Linked DNA regions of Homo sapiens: region 2 is linked to region 1. The links are contacts of gene promoters, found by promoter capture Hi-C in human tissues and cell types (Jung and others, 2019). All regions are on one chromosome and are shown on one strand. Each heading gives the region's core, a stretch centred on a gene start or on the middle of the fragment in contact. The rest is flanking DNA. Distances are from core to core; before and after follow the strand shown.

Region 1 (7,070 bases), core at 4,132-6,631:
TCAGGAGGCCGAGCCAGGAGAATGGCGTGAACCTGGGAGGTGGAGCTTGCAGTGAGCCGAGATCGCACCACTGCACACCAGCCTGGGCAACAGAGGGAGACTCCATCTCAAAAAATAAAAATAAAAATAAAAATAAAGAGTATGTTCATTTTAACCCTGTGATGTACATTGCCATGTTGACTTATGAGAACCCCTTTTCTGTGAAAATATCTCAGGGGCCTCACAGGATAATTTATTTGTTTTCAGTAGCCATTAGTTGAAAAATGCATAATAAAAAGCTACCAGTTTTGATTATAAACTAAGTTGCACTAAACACAACAGAATCAGCATACACTTTAAATAAAAACCCTTTGTGTTCAGAATGTATTGTTTGGCCAATCCACCTGCAATCCTTGGACTGCTTAGGGCCTGGCTGGCTCTTTGCAGGTGTGATTGATTTCCCAAATTGGGAACTGTTGCCTCTTGATTGTATTCTGTGGATCCAGGTCCCCAAAACAGCAGGTCTCGGGCAAAATTTTTTTTGTCTTTTTCTCAGATGAAGAGTTATCTTAAGGATCATCTTTCCCTAAGATCGTCATCCCTTCCTGGAGTTCCTATCTTCCAAGATGTGACTGTCTGGAGTTCCTTGACTAGGAAGATGGATGAAAACAGCAAGCCTGTGGATGGAGACTACAGGGGATATGGGAGGCAGGGAAGAGGGGTTGTTTCTTTTAATAAATCATCATTGTTAAAAGCACTCATACTATTTGAGTTATTTGGTTAAAGGTGAGGAGGAGGGGGAGGAGGACAGATGACATTTGTTGCGTACTGACTATCAACAAGGACCATGTTAAATTCTCCCCAGGCATTATCTAAGTAACCTTAACAACCTTTTGACTGCACTTCTTATCATTACCATTTGAGGACACTGAGGTTTGGGGCAGAGTCATATAGCAGGTAAGTGTCAGGGCCTAAACTATAATCTCATGTCGAACGCCATATAAGTCCTATGCATTATAGCATGGTGGTCAGGAGCCCTGACTCTGAATTTCAAACCCAGGCACACCACACAGCCATGTGGCCTTCAGTGAGAGTCTTCATCTTTCTGTGATTCGACTCATATATATAATAGTACCTCATGAAACTACAAAGATTAAAGAGGGTCACATAAAGTGCTGACACATAGAAAGCATTCAGTAAGTGTTAACTACAATGATTATTAACACAGTAGTACCCCTAATCCACGGGGGATATGTTTCAAGACCCCCAGTGAATGCACAAAACCGTGGATCGTATCAAACTCTACATATACTGCCGTGGATAGTATCAAACTCTCTATATATGTGTTCTGTCCTATAAATACATCCTTATGATAAAGTAAATTTATAAATTAGGCACAGTAAGAGATTAACAATAACTAATAATAAAATAGAACAAATATAACAATATGCCAGCATCACTACTCTTATGCTTTGAGACCACTAAGCAAAATAAAGGTTACTTGAACACAAGCACTGGGACAGTGGATCTCATAACTGAGATGGTTATTAAGTGACTAACGGGTGGGTAGCATATAAAGCGTGGATATGCTTGACTAAGGGATGATTCACATTCCAGGCAGAATGAAGTGGGATGGCGCAAGATTTCATCACGCTACTCAGAACAGCAGCAAGTTGAAATGTATGAATTGTTTATTTCTGGAAATTTCCATTTCGTTTTTTTTTTCTTTTTTTTTTGGACGGAGTTTTACTTTGGTCACCCAGGCTGGAGTGCAATGGTGTGATCTCGGCTCACTGCAATCTCTGCCTCCCAGGTTCAAGTGATTCTCCTGCCTCAGCCTCCCAAGTAGCTGGGATTACAGGCGTGTGCCAACACGTCCGGCTAATTTTTGTATTTTTAGTAGAGATGGAGTTTCACCATGTTGGTCAGCTGGTGTCGAGTTCCTGACCTCCAGTGAGCAGCCCGTCTCGGACTCCCAAAGTGCTGGGATTACAGGCATGAGACACTGCGCCCAGCGCATTTCATATTTTCATACTGTGATTGACCACGGGTAATTGAAAAGGCTGAAAGTGAAACTACTGATAAGGGGGGACTCCTATGTAATCACATAGATAGGCTGATGACCCTGAAACAGAACTCAAGGCCAATCCTCCTTCCTAGCCTCTCCTGGTTCAAAGTGTAATCTGGATACCGAAATCAAGCTCCTGTCTTCTGGTTTTCCCCATTACAAAATGTGGGAGGTAAAAAACAATGGGTTTATAATTTCTTGTCTATGTTCTTCACAATCACAGCCAGCCTGGGCTGCAATCTGATTTCAACCAATTTGCTGCCTGTGCAGCCTTGACCAACCATTTATACTCTTCGGCACCATTTTCCCAACTATAAAAGGGGGAAATAATATCTACCTCATTTGATACTAAGACTTATAAAACTTTATAGTTTACAAAGCATTTTCACAAAAATCCCATTCGATTTTCACATCAACCGGTGGCAAATAGGGGACCCTGAATAAAAAATTAGTGAATTCATTCATTCTGTTAACAAATATTGTGGGGCATCTACCACATCCCAGGGGCTGTGCTAGCCCTGGGATACAACAGCGAATGAGACAAACGGGAACTGTGCCTTCATAAAGTTAATATTCTAGAGGGGAAAACAGATGATAAAGTCATCAAATAAACAAGATAACTGCAGGTTATGGTAAATTTTCCGAAGGAAATAATCAAAGATGTGAATTAGAGTGAAGTGGGGGTATGCAAGCCTACGTGAGTTAGGATGACCCAGACGCTCATGAAGGGATAAAAGTGAAGTCTTGAGAGGTTTCCACACATGAAAGGAGTGAAATTCCACTGAGGTTCCAGATCATCCGATGCAGAATCTAACAAAGGAAATGGCTGTGAACGTGCTTAGCACCCCTTAAAGCCCCTCAGTCACTGCAGGACTATGAAAATGCAGAGAATTGAGGAGGAGACAGAAGATTTTCTTGGAAGAGAGCTTTTGCCATGCTGTGTTTCCACAGTTTCAGGGTGGGAGGTGGGAGCAGGAGTGCTACTGTCTAAACTCAAGCCAATGCAGGGTGCCTTCAAAGGCCTCCCTCAGAGCTTGAGATACGTTTCCTTCAGTTGGTGATCACTGCAGAGTAGGGATGTCCATTTCCTTAAAGGAACCACACTGATCCAAAACAGTATATTCTACCAGAACTGAACAGACCGGCATCAGTATACTGTATTTTACAATTCCTGGGCCATTCCACCCTGAATAACACAATATGTAGGTCATCCATATTGCAACTTAAAGTGAACCACACCAAACCCAGATCCTTTCCAGTCTCTTCGAACGTGCATTGTGGAAATGACCAGGCCTCACATCCTTCTAGCCCAATGTGTAAGACAGCTCTTTAGTACTACTTCACATACTCTTGGTCTTACATTCTTACTCTAGCCATTGCTACAGCAACTAGTTTATCACAGGCATCTACTAGCTTAGCACAGGTATAACTGGTGAGAGCCTTGCCTCAGATATGCACCTAGTTTCCTCACTTTTGCCTCAGGGCTTCTTTGACTATGCAACATAGGACTCCTCCAGGAACCAAGCACAGATGCATGCTCAACACAGGAACACCAGTGAATTAATGCCTTGTGGTCAACTTTTGACAATAGACTTCAAAAGCTGACAGATAAATGCTTTTCCTCTCTGTTCCTCAGAAGAAGGGTTTTGAGAGCTTCACAAGGCTTCTCAGAAACTCCTGAGGACTGAACAATCAGTCACCCCTTGCAATGGCCAACTCAATAGCACATATTGGTATTAATTCTCCTTCCTTCCCTGTTCATTTCTGGATAAATCCCTCACCTATCAACCTCATCTGAGGCTCTGCTATCAGGGAACCCAGATTAAAATATCCAACGACTAGGTTTCAGCTCCTGATCTTCTCTGAACAAATGCTTGAATACATTTCTTTACACGAATACACACACACACATGCACATATATAACGCACATATGTACACAGACTAGGAATAAGAAATAATATACCAGCACAACGGAATCTAAATCCAAACAAAAAAATTAACATTTCTCCCCAAGCCCAAAGTCTTCAGAAAACTACCTCTGCTAAAGCATACCCCCAATTTTCACTGCTGAACAGAAATGTTTTGTTCTCAGGATAAAACATACATTCAGGTGACTTCAAGGTTTTCCCTAAGGGCCAAGGGTGAGGATTTGCTTTATATTTGCATAACTCAAAGGCCCTAGAGATGGTTTTCCCAATCTGCCCAACTGTGAAAGTCAAGCCTTCACTTCCTGGATGACTGAAAAGTGATCACAGATTTTTAAATGGCCATTTTATTCTCCAGCTTCTTGACTTCAAGGTTTCAGAAAATCTTGGGGTGTCTCATTTCAACCCGGTCACTCTTAGGCAGATTATATTTTACATGATTCAGTTAAACTCCAAAATTACTCTTCTAGTGGGGCGAGGTGCCTCATGATCCATGAGAGGATTCACACTGGGAAAAAGGGAGAAAAAGGAACCAAGAGTACAGCCAGCTGTCACTTAAGTAGGGAAAGCTGCCTTATATTCCACTGACCAGATTGCAATCACAGAGCCACAGCCAACTGCAAGGAATGCTAGGGAACGTAGCCTTTATTCCGGGTGGTTTTGTGCCTGGGGAAAGATTTTAGAAGAGTAGAAGGGTGCCTTAGAACTAGCGGTTTCTGCTACTGCCATCCACAGCATACCCTCTCCAACTCCAGCCCGAATCTGAAACTCTAGTACGGAACAGAGTACCTTCAGCCCTGTCCAGGAACAAACTCTGGGAGGACAAACTTTCTGGAAGCACAAATTGAGAACTCACTTTTCAGTCAGGGCTCAAGAAGGAGTGGCCGGCGAAAAATCTCCAAGCCAATTTCTTTCTTTTTTTTTTTTTCTGAGACGGAGTCTCGCTCTGTCGCCCAGGCTGGAGTGCAGTGGCGCGATCTTGGCTCATTGCAAGCCCTGCCTCCCGGGTTCACGCCATTCTCCTGCCTCAGCCTCCCGAGTAGCTGGGACAACAGGCGCCCGCCACCACTCCCGGCTAATTTTTTTTTTTTTTTTTTTTTTGTATTTTTAGTAGAGACGGGGTTTCACCGTGTTAGCTAGGATGGTCTCGATCTTCTGACCTCGTGATCCGCCCGCCTCGGCCTCCCAAAGTGCTGGGATTACAGGCGTCAGCCACCGAGCCCGGCCTCCAAGCCAATTTCTGACAAGCATCTGCAGGGTACCGGTCGGAGGAGTCCCGTAGTCATGGAAACCCCTCTGAGCCCCAGTCCGGTCTAAAAAAGGTACTTTCGGAACTAGAGCGCGCGGAACGGGAGGATGTCCCGGAAGTATTTCCCTGGGATCACCCCACCCACCCCCCCCGCCCGTAGAAAAGATGGCTGCTGTGCAAGTTGTCGGTTCGTGGCCTTCCGTGCAGCCGCGGGAGGCACCGCGGGAAGCAATCCCTGAGCGAGGCAATGGGTTTCGCCTCTTGTCTGCCAGGCTCTGCGCCCTGCGCCCGGATGACAGCAGCTCCGCCCGCACCGAGATCCACCTGCTCTTCGATCAGCTCATCTCCGAGAACTACAGCGAGGGCAGTGGCGTGGCCCCGGAGGTAGGCGGCGCGCCCTGCTGGCCCCGGCCCCGGCCCCACCCCTCCGGGAACCCAGCTGGTGGCCTCTGCCTGCCTTTCCCTGATCTTCCCACTCTCGCGCCTGATGATTTAGTTTCAGGATGGCGTGCCCCCTCCAACCTTGGCACATTCTTAGTTCTCCATTTGGAAGACCCTGCAGTGCTTGGCACGCTCGAGTCATTCAAAACCCAACTTGACGACTCCTGCTCTGATAATGCCTCGGGTTTCCTCTCTGATACCAACTTTCCATCCGCCCGCACCCTCCTTCACTCCCTCTCTGTGCACCCAGAACACTTGGTTGACAAAATGCATTACTACTGTTTATTGCGTACATGGTACACGGACCACGTGGGAATCTTAGAACTTGCGTAGTATTAGGGCTTGTTTGCTAATGAAAATACTGAAGCTCGTAAAAATACAGTATACAAAACTCTGCCACAAAGCCCCTATGTTTTCTGTTCCTACACACTAGCTCCTCCCCTCTGCCGTCTTTCTGAGTAATCTTACACACATCAGGCCTTAAATTAATGAATTCTCTGAACTGTTGACACCATGGCCTTCTGGCCCTACGTAGGAAAGAGGGAAGTGGTGCAAGTTGCCTGCTTGCACAGGCATCTCAAACTAGACAGTTCCTAAAGATGAAATTCATTAGCTCCAAACACGCATTCCCGTCCCCAGTCCATCCCACCTTCCAACACACATGCATCATCCACCAAGTCACACCAGACACAAACACTGGTTCTTCCCTCCTTCATCCCAGATCCTGACCAACTCAGGTATTTCAGAATGTGTCTCATATATATTTCTCAGTTCATCCCCTCCTGTCTATTCCCATAGCGAGTGCCTTAGACCTCAGGCAAGGCGACTTATGCCTGGACTGTTCGCTGATCCCCTCTGACTGATCTCCTGCCTCCTGTCTAGCTCCTCTCCAAGCCAGTCATTCCTCCAATGCCAGAATGATCTTTTCTTTAGGAGGAAAAAAAATTGTTCATAAACTTTAAAATCTGCTTTGGAAAAGTCTTCAATACGTATTGGTAAATGGTTGAAGCAAGTTGCAGGACAATTCATACAGAATGAGATCAGTATGAAGCTGGAGGAGGGATTTTAAAATATGTGTGTTTATATATGCAAAGTAAAAGGTCTGAAAGAATTGACTACAGAATAATAGTGTATGTCATTAGGAAGCAGAGTGAGATTAAGGCAGTAGTCGGGGACTTTTGCTGTATTTGTGTAATTGGATACTTTTGCAACAAAACTTCCATTCTCTCCTGTTACTCCCCCTTTTGTTCCTGTGTGCAGCCATTTAAAACTTGCTGTTCTTCAGGCACCTACTAGTGTTTCACACCTCCAGGTTTTTGCATACTCTGTCCACTTTGCTTGCAGTGTTTTTTGATGCCCTATCTGGCAAATTTCTCCTCATCCTTCAAATCATTCCAGATTCTGCTT
Region 2 (7,428 bases), core at 1,362-3,861, 130 kb after region 1:
TTGTTTGCACGTAAAACATCAATTGGTAAGTTTCTTTTGTCTTTGCTTCCATTTTGCTGGAAAAAGTTTGACCAAGCTTGCATGCTAATTTGTCCTTAGTTGCAAGTATTATAGGCAATTTTGTACTTTGCCTAATGAAAGGATAACCCTTCTTCAACACAATCAGAACTCAACAGTGATTCAGAAGCAACATCCTACCCTTAATACTGTCAGTTTCGAGTCATCAACATGAAAATCCTTGATAAGGTTGAGAAGATGTCGCGAGGAATCAATTAATTGATGTGCCTAAGAGTTCAGCAATACTATTTTGCTTTAAGTTTTTTTTTGCACCATTGATTGATTTTTTAAAATCCACGTTTATTTTTCCTGTGTCTGAAGTGTTCTATGTAATGACATTGACTCTCTGAAACTGTCATTTTGAGTCGTTTCACCTTGCAGGATGCTCACACATCTCCCTCTCCACCTTTTTTGCCTTAAATTCATTAAAAGCATTGCTCTGTCATAGATTCATACGCAGGTGCTCTGGCCGTTTGGAGATCATGGGAAAAGCTTGTTTTTTGTATGGCCCAGAGTTCGGCTGTCGTATTGGAAGTGGTGCCGATGCTTCCCCACTCATTGTCACATCCATCTGCTCTATGCCACTTGTTTCCATTGGGTATTCCACAGGTGTCTGAGGATTTGCTGTGCTGGCCGAAGCACCTCTTCCCCAGAAATCCCCAGGAGAAAATTTGACTGGGCTTTAAGACAAGGAAGAGCTATCATTCATTTGCTTAAGGGTCATCTCAACAAGACATATTTCCTTTACGTTTAAAGGGAGTGGGGTAACATGACATTTATTTTCATTTAATTTTATTTTCACGTGGATTAGCACAAAGGCAAAAATTGAACCATCTCTCCCCCACCTAGATTAACTGCTAGAATTTCCTAACTGGTCTCTTTACCTCTACACCTGACCCCCAAAACCCTCAATGAGATATATATACATTTAAATGCGTATTATATATATCATTTTACTCTCCCCTGCTCAAAACAGCTTTCTATTGCATTTAAAATAAAATACTTTTCCAAACCTCTGCCCTTCTCCTCACTCACCACACACTCCAGGAACACTGATTTCCCTTTCACTTCCAGGAAAAGGGCAACTTTTCTCCTCCCTCAGGGTTTTTGCATTTGCTGTTCTTCTGCCTGCAACATTCTTATACCTCCTATTTTTGTAGGGCTGGCTCTTTCCGTTCACTGCTAGATGTTACTACACCAGGGAGGCCTTTCTCTGATCACTGTGAGTAGAAGCCCCCTTGTTTTTCCTCTGCTCTCTACCAGTACATTCTTTTTTTCCCCTTTTAAATTATAGCACTTTGCACTACTTGTAATTATATTTTTGTATATCCTTTGTCTATTGTGACTTTCCCACTAAATTGTAAGCTTCATCAGGACAGGGACAATTCCTGTATTATAGTACTATATAGATACACACACATAACATGCAGTATGTAGTGCTGGTGCTCTTGGTGCACAATAAATGCTGAGTGAATGGATAAAGAGGACATTTGCCAGTATGGCTGCTTACTTTTGGGAGGGAAGGTAAACCATATAACATCATAGATTAGTCAGACTAGTCCTTTGCAATGTAAGATATAGATGCTGTGCTTATGTCAACCAAAGAGAGTATGACAGTCTTTCATTTATATAACTTGGCATAAACTTCTTAAGCAAACACTCTTGTAGGTTGTTTAAAAACAAAAAAAAGTGAAAATAAGAGTGTGAAATACCTGACAGGTGTTCGTGGGCTGCCAATAAATCTTCGAGGTGATCGGATTTTTGGTTCAAAGGAAAACTTTTCTTTCACACTTTCAAGTACAGATGGAGCCACATATGTAAAACCCTGAAAGACAGTAACAGTGGACTACAGAATGGCATTTTGTCATGTATCTCAAGAGAATGGGGTTGTTCAGTCTGACATACCTACACAATGATGCACACCTAAAACCACCAATGTGTACACTCTCCCACGTCCTCAACCTCATTTTTAGACCCGTTAACTTCTTTCCAGCCATTTCGTGAGGCACACACTTCAAGAAAGCAGAATTCCATTGAGCCTGATATGCTAGCAAACAAAATTCTACCCTACTGACAGGAATAGAAAAAAAAACAGGAAAATTCAGGCTCCATATGAAGATGTTAAATACGCCCAGGCACGGGGGCTCACGCCTGTCATCCCAGCACTTTGGGAGGCCAAGGCGGGCAGACCACCTGAGGTCAGGAGTTAAAGACCAGCCTGGCCAATGTGGTGAAACACCGTCTCTACTAAAAATACAAAAATACACCACCATGCATGGTGGTGCACGCCTGTAATCCCAGCTACTCGGGAGGCTGAGGCAGGAGGATCACTTGAACCTGGTAGGTGGAGGTTGCAGTGAGCAGAGATCGCACCACTGCATTCTAGCCTGGGCAACAGAGTAAGACTCCATCTCAAAAATTAAAAAAAAAAAAAAAAAAGATGTTAAATACTAGGAGAAATGTAAAGAAACTTCTAGTGTTTCTAGCCACAGGCATATAAGCAATTAAGTTTATCACCCTAAAACAGTTTCTTATAATCAGACCAAAGTAAAAACAATTTTCTGACTTGGCATCAAAGTCAGATCTTGTGATCTTTCTGGTTTTACGCCAATGATTGGACAGAATTCGTTTTTTGTTTTGTTTTAAGAGATGGGGTATCCCTATATTGCCCAGGCTGGAGTGCAGTGGTGATAACATAGCTCACTGCAGCCTCAAACTCCTGGACCCAAGCTATTCTCCCACCTCAGCCCCTCAAGTAGCTGTGACTATATAGGCACGTGTGATCTCTGCCCAGCTAGAATTTGGTGTTTTCTTGATGAATAAGTATCAACATTTCAAAAACCTTCAGTTGTAATAGGCAAAAATGCAGTTTTGTTCATTTTAGTTCTCTCTTGGATCTTACTATTAGGCTACCAGCTGTCATTTCTCTAGCTGTCAATGTTCATTCTTTTAACCATCTTCACCTATCTTCTATTTATCAAAATCTATGAGTAAGCATTATGTGTTACAATAAATAAGACTCAGCAAAGCTCTGAGTGAAGTCCCAAAGAGTGAGGTGCAATTCTGAAGTGCATATGATTTGTGACAGTTATATGTGAACTTCAGAGAATAATTTTACAAACGTTCTGGTGGACTAAAGCTGTAACTACCAAGAGGTACAGGCTGTGCCTTAATCATCTTTGAATTTCCTCTAATTCTGTGATGGGGTCTTACAACAGGAATTAAAATATTTGTTGAAATGAGGTTGCTAGAACCACATTATCCAGATAAGTGGGATGTCACTATATGTGTGTGTGTATGTATGTGTGTATATATATATATGTGTATATATATATATATAATTTTTTTTTTTTTTTTGAGATGGATTCTAGCTCTGTCGCCCAGGCTGGAGTGCAGTGAGGGGCGTGATCTCAGCTCATTACAACCTCCTCCTCCCGGGTTCAAGCGATTCTCCTGCCTCAGCCTCCCGAGTAGCTGGGACTACAGCCATCATGCCTGGCTAATTTTTGTATTTTTAGTAGAGATGGGTTTTCACCATATTAGCCAGGCTGGTCTGGAACTCCTGACCTTGTGATCCGCCCACCTCAGACTCCCAAAGTGCTGGGATTACAGGCGTGAGCCACTGCACCTGACCTATTTTTTTTTATTAATGTTTAAAGAGATCCACTTTATGTAGAGAATTCTGGCTACAACCTAACAAATGAGTTGCTCTATTCATTAGCCAATTTAAGTAATTGTGAAAAGCTCAACAATACTTTAACTGGCAACGAAAGCTTCAATATCTCACTTTTACCACCACAACTTTGGATTTCTTGGCAGCTAAATAAAATGCTTCTATTTTGTGGGGGGAAAACTGTCACATAAGTTGAAATTCTGCAATGTCCAATTGAGGAAAAGGTCTCTATGTTAAATCAAAGGTATAAATTCCACATCTGTAGTACATGAGAGAAAAAAAATGCCAAAATTAAAGTGATTCATGCCCACTTCCCTAACTGAACCTAAGATTTTACTAACAGAGATGCCGTAACTTTGATCATGCACACATCAAACTTGAATTTAAAAACATGCATGCACTCACTCATCTTTTATCTCTTATGTAATACTGTAAGACTATATTTTGCCTATGTGCTCTATATTAATTTATAGGATTATTACTATTCAGTGTTGTTTACTCAAAACCATACTGTACTATACACAACTTTTGCATCCCATACTAACTTAATTTTTTTAATTAATTTTTTTTTTTTTGATACGGAGTCTCACTCACTCTATCGCTCAGGCTGGAGTGCAGTGGCACAATCTTGGCTCCTGCAACCTCTGCCTCCCGGGTTCAAGTGATTCTCCTGCCTCAGCCTCCCAAGTAGTTGGTACCACAGGTGCATGCCACCACACCTGGCTAATTTTTGTACTTTTAGTAGAGATGGGGTTTCACCATGTTAGCCAGGCTGGTCTTGAACTCCTGACCTCAAGGTTATAGCCATAAGCCACCATGCCCCAACTCCATGCTAACTTTAGAGCTTATTTCCCATCCCATAAGATACAACACTACTTGTATTACATAGTGAGCAATGTGGGGAAGAAAAGCTTAAGAATTAAGTTAGTGACAAATCCAGTGAACTCAAAAACAGGGAAAAAACACTCCCAAACAATTATTTTCCCCATATTCTATTCTCCCTAGAGTAGTCCAAAAACAAATGACAAAAGAAAAAAAAAGGATACAAAATGAGATAGATGTTCATGTGACATATTAAGTACAGTAATAAAATCAACAAGCATATGTGCTATTTGAGCAAAATAGTATGCATTCATGGTCTTCTGATATAAATCCATCATTTCTGTTGGCCAACATCAAAAACCTTTACTTTTCTGAGGAGACAAGCTATAAATCTATACAGACATTTCTACAATGAGAATTCACTATTACATATGAACCAATATGTTTTGATGTCAAATATTCACAATTAATGTTAAAAAAATCCCCTACTTGGCCTGGCACGGTGGCTCATGCCTGTATTCCCAACACTTTGGGAGGCCAAGGCGGGTGGATCACGAGGTCAAGAAATCGAGACCATCGACTGGGCGTGGTGGCTTACGCCTGTAATCCCAGCACTTTGGGAGGCCAAGGCGGGCGGATCATGAGGTCAGGAGATCAAAACTATCCTGGCTAACACGATGAAACCCCGTCTCTACTACAAATACAAAAAATTAGCCTGGCGTGGTGGCGGGCACCTGTAGTCCCAGCTACTCAGGAGGCTGAGGCAGGAGGATGGTGTGAACCCGGGAGGTGGAGCTTGCAGTGAGCTGAGATTGCGCCACTGCACTCCAACCTGGGCGACAGAGCGAGACTCCTTCTCAAAAAAAAAAAAAAAAAGAAATCGAGACCATCCTGGCCAACATGGTGAAACCCTGTCTCTACTAAAAATACAAAAATTAACTGGGCGTGGTGGCGCACGCCTATAGTCCCAGCTACTCGGGAGGCTGAGGCAGGAGAATCACTCGAACCCAGGAGGCAGAAGTTGCAGTGAGCTGAGATCGCGCCACTGCACTCCAACCTGGTGACAGAGCAAGACTCCGTCTCAAAAAAAAAAAAAAAAATCCCCTACTTATGTTAAGAGTACCAAAAATAGGGCCAGGAACGATGGCTCATGCCTATAATTTTGGCACTTTGGGAAGCCAAGGCAGGAAGATAGCTTGAGTCCAGGAGTAAAATAGTGAGACTCTGTCTCTACAAAAAAATAAAAAATTAGCTGCATGTGGCACACACCTGTGGTACAGGTACTCACAAGGCTGAAATGGGTGGATCACTTGAGCCTGGGAGGTCAAGGCTGCAGTGAACTGTGATCACACCACTACACTACACCCAGCCTAGGCTACAAGGTGAGACCCTGTCTCAAAAAAAAAAAAAAAAAAAGTACCAAAAATCTATAGCTGTTTCAGGAATAAAATACATGTAGTCAGTGAGGTTTTTCTCCCCGACTGCTATGACTAATTTTTGGTTGAGATGCTAAGCCAAACATCATTTTAAGTCTGTGGCCTAAAAAAAAAAGGGAATCATACTTTCCAAAGATTTGTACATTCCCACTCTAATTGCTAAAATAAAATGTTGGATTATGAAAATAAATTTTGTAGGCATCAATAAGTTATAAAGGCATGGCTTATTTAAAAAAAAAAAAAAAAGTGGGCCAGGTTACCTACATGAACTGCAAAGCAAGCAAACTGAATTTTCTTTGAAGAGCCCATCCTCACACTAAAATTTCCCATGACTACATGGAAATTCTTTCACTTACCAGAAAGACCTGATTGGCACTTTCACTGAGAGTTGAGTCATCTGGGCTGTCGACAGGTGTCTGACGTGTAAACTTGGAATCAAACTGACTTACATCCTCTTCAGATTGCTTTATACAAACAAAATAATTTAGAAAATAATAAATAGTCCATGTTACATCAATCAAATGCACTGTAAGCTCTGGGAGCTCTTTTCACGGGGGTTAACTATAATAAAGTATTAGAATAGTCTTAGCAGGCACAGAATGAAGAAAAAAATGTAGGTGGAAAGTACTGAGTCAAATTACATCTTCAAATCTTAAACATGCACTAAAATAGATTTTAGTATACAGTTATTCCTATTAAAAATGTGAATATATCGACTGGGCATGGTGGCTCACGTCTGTAATCCCAGCACCTTGGGAGGCTGAGGCAGGCGGATCATGAGGTCAGGAGTTTGAGACCAGCCTGGCCAAAATAGTGAAACCCCATCTCTACTAAAAATACAAAAAATTAGCCAGGCATGGTGGCGTGTGCCTGTAATCCTAGCTACTCAGGAGGATGAGGCAGGAGAATTGCTTGAACCCGGGAGGCACAGGTTGCAGCAAGCAGAGATCGTGCCACTGCACACCAGCCCAGATGACAGTGCGAGAGTCTGTCTCAATAAAAAAAAAAAAAAAAAAAAAAAAAAGTGAATATATCGAGCTCAAAACAAGCTGGAAAAAATGTTAATATCAATTTCCCCTCTCACAAAGCTTCAGTGTGCCTAGTCCACTGGCTAAATCCCTGTTTAGAGATAATTAGTTCAGTTGGCTACTGCAGGTTTGTAATAAACCTGAAAAACTACTGAAGCAGAGTTAAAACATGAATAACACTGGTAAGATGCTCCAGTTAAAGTTTCTTCCCACAGCTTATTTCATTCCTTTAGAAATCTAAAGGAACAAAAATAATTTTCTATTCTGCATGGTTTATAAGTTATATTTCCTTGTGAAAGTATAGTTATCACTTCAGTTCTAACCATGAGATTTATTTATTTAATTCCTTCTCTCTTTCCCAAAATATCTGGTTAGACTCTTGGGCCAAATGTAGGAAGTAAATAATAATTTA

The links. The method cuts DNA at HindIII sites, captures the fragments that hold promoters and counts their contacts. A contact is called where the count stands out against the background at its distance.
Region 2: a contact is called between a fragment that was not itself captured here and the fragment with the promoter of HEATR6 in region 1, in 2 of the 25 tissues and cell types used here (H1 embryonic stem cells and dorsolateral prefrontal cortex).

What each region holds. Positions count from the first base shown.
Region 1 is chr17:60,077,232-60,084,301 of GRCh38, reverse strand. HEATR6 (HEAT repeat containing 6) reads left to right here and starts at 5,381. Exons shown (of 20, transcript NM_022070.5): 1 at 5,381-5,606. The coding sequence starts at 5,388. It overlaps HEATR6-DT (HEATR6 divergent transcript), which reads right to left and starts at 4,993. Exons shown (of 2, transcript NR_135648.1): 1 at 4,830-4,993. It also overlaps the pseudogene WFDC21P. RefSeq lists a silencer at 5,595-5,724. The HindIII fragment of the contact is 14,340 bases long and covers 1-7,070 here.
Region 2 is chr17:59,939,860-59,947,287 of GRCh38, reverse strand. It overlaps RPS6KB1 (ribosomal protein S6 kinase B1), which reads right to left. Exons shown (of 15, transcript NM_003161.4): 13 at 6,345-6,452; 14 at 1,770-1,882; 15 at 1-737. The coding sequence ends at 500. Among named protein-coding and RNA genes, the nearest start is that of RNFT1, 21 kb to the left of the region's middle. The HindIII fragment of the contact is 3,250 bases long and covers 987-4,236 here.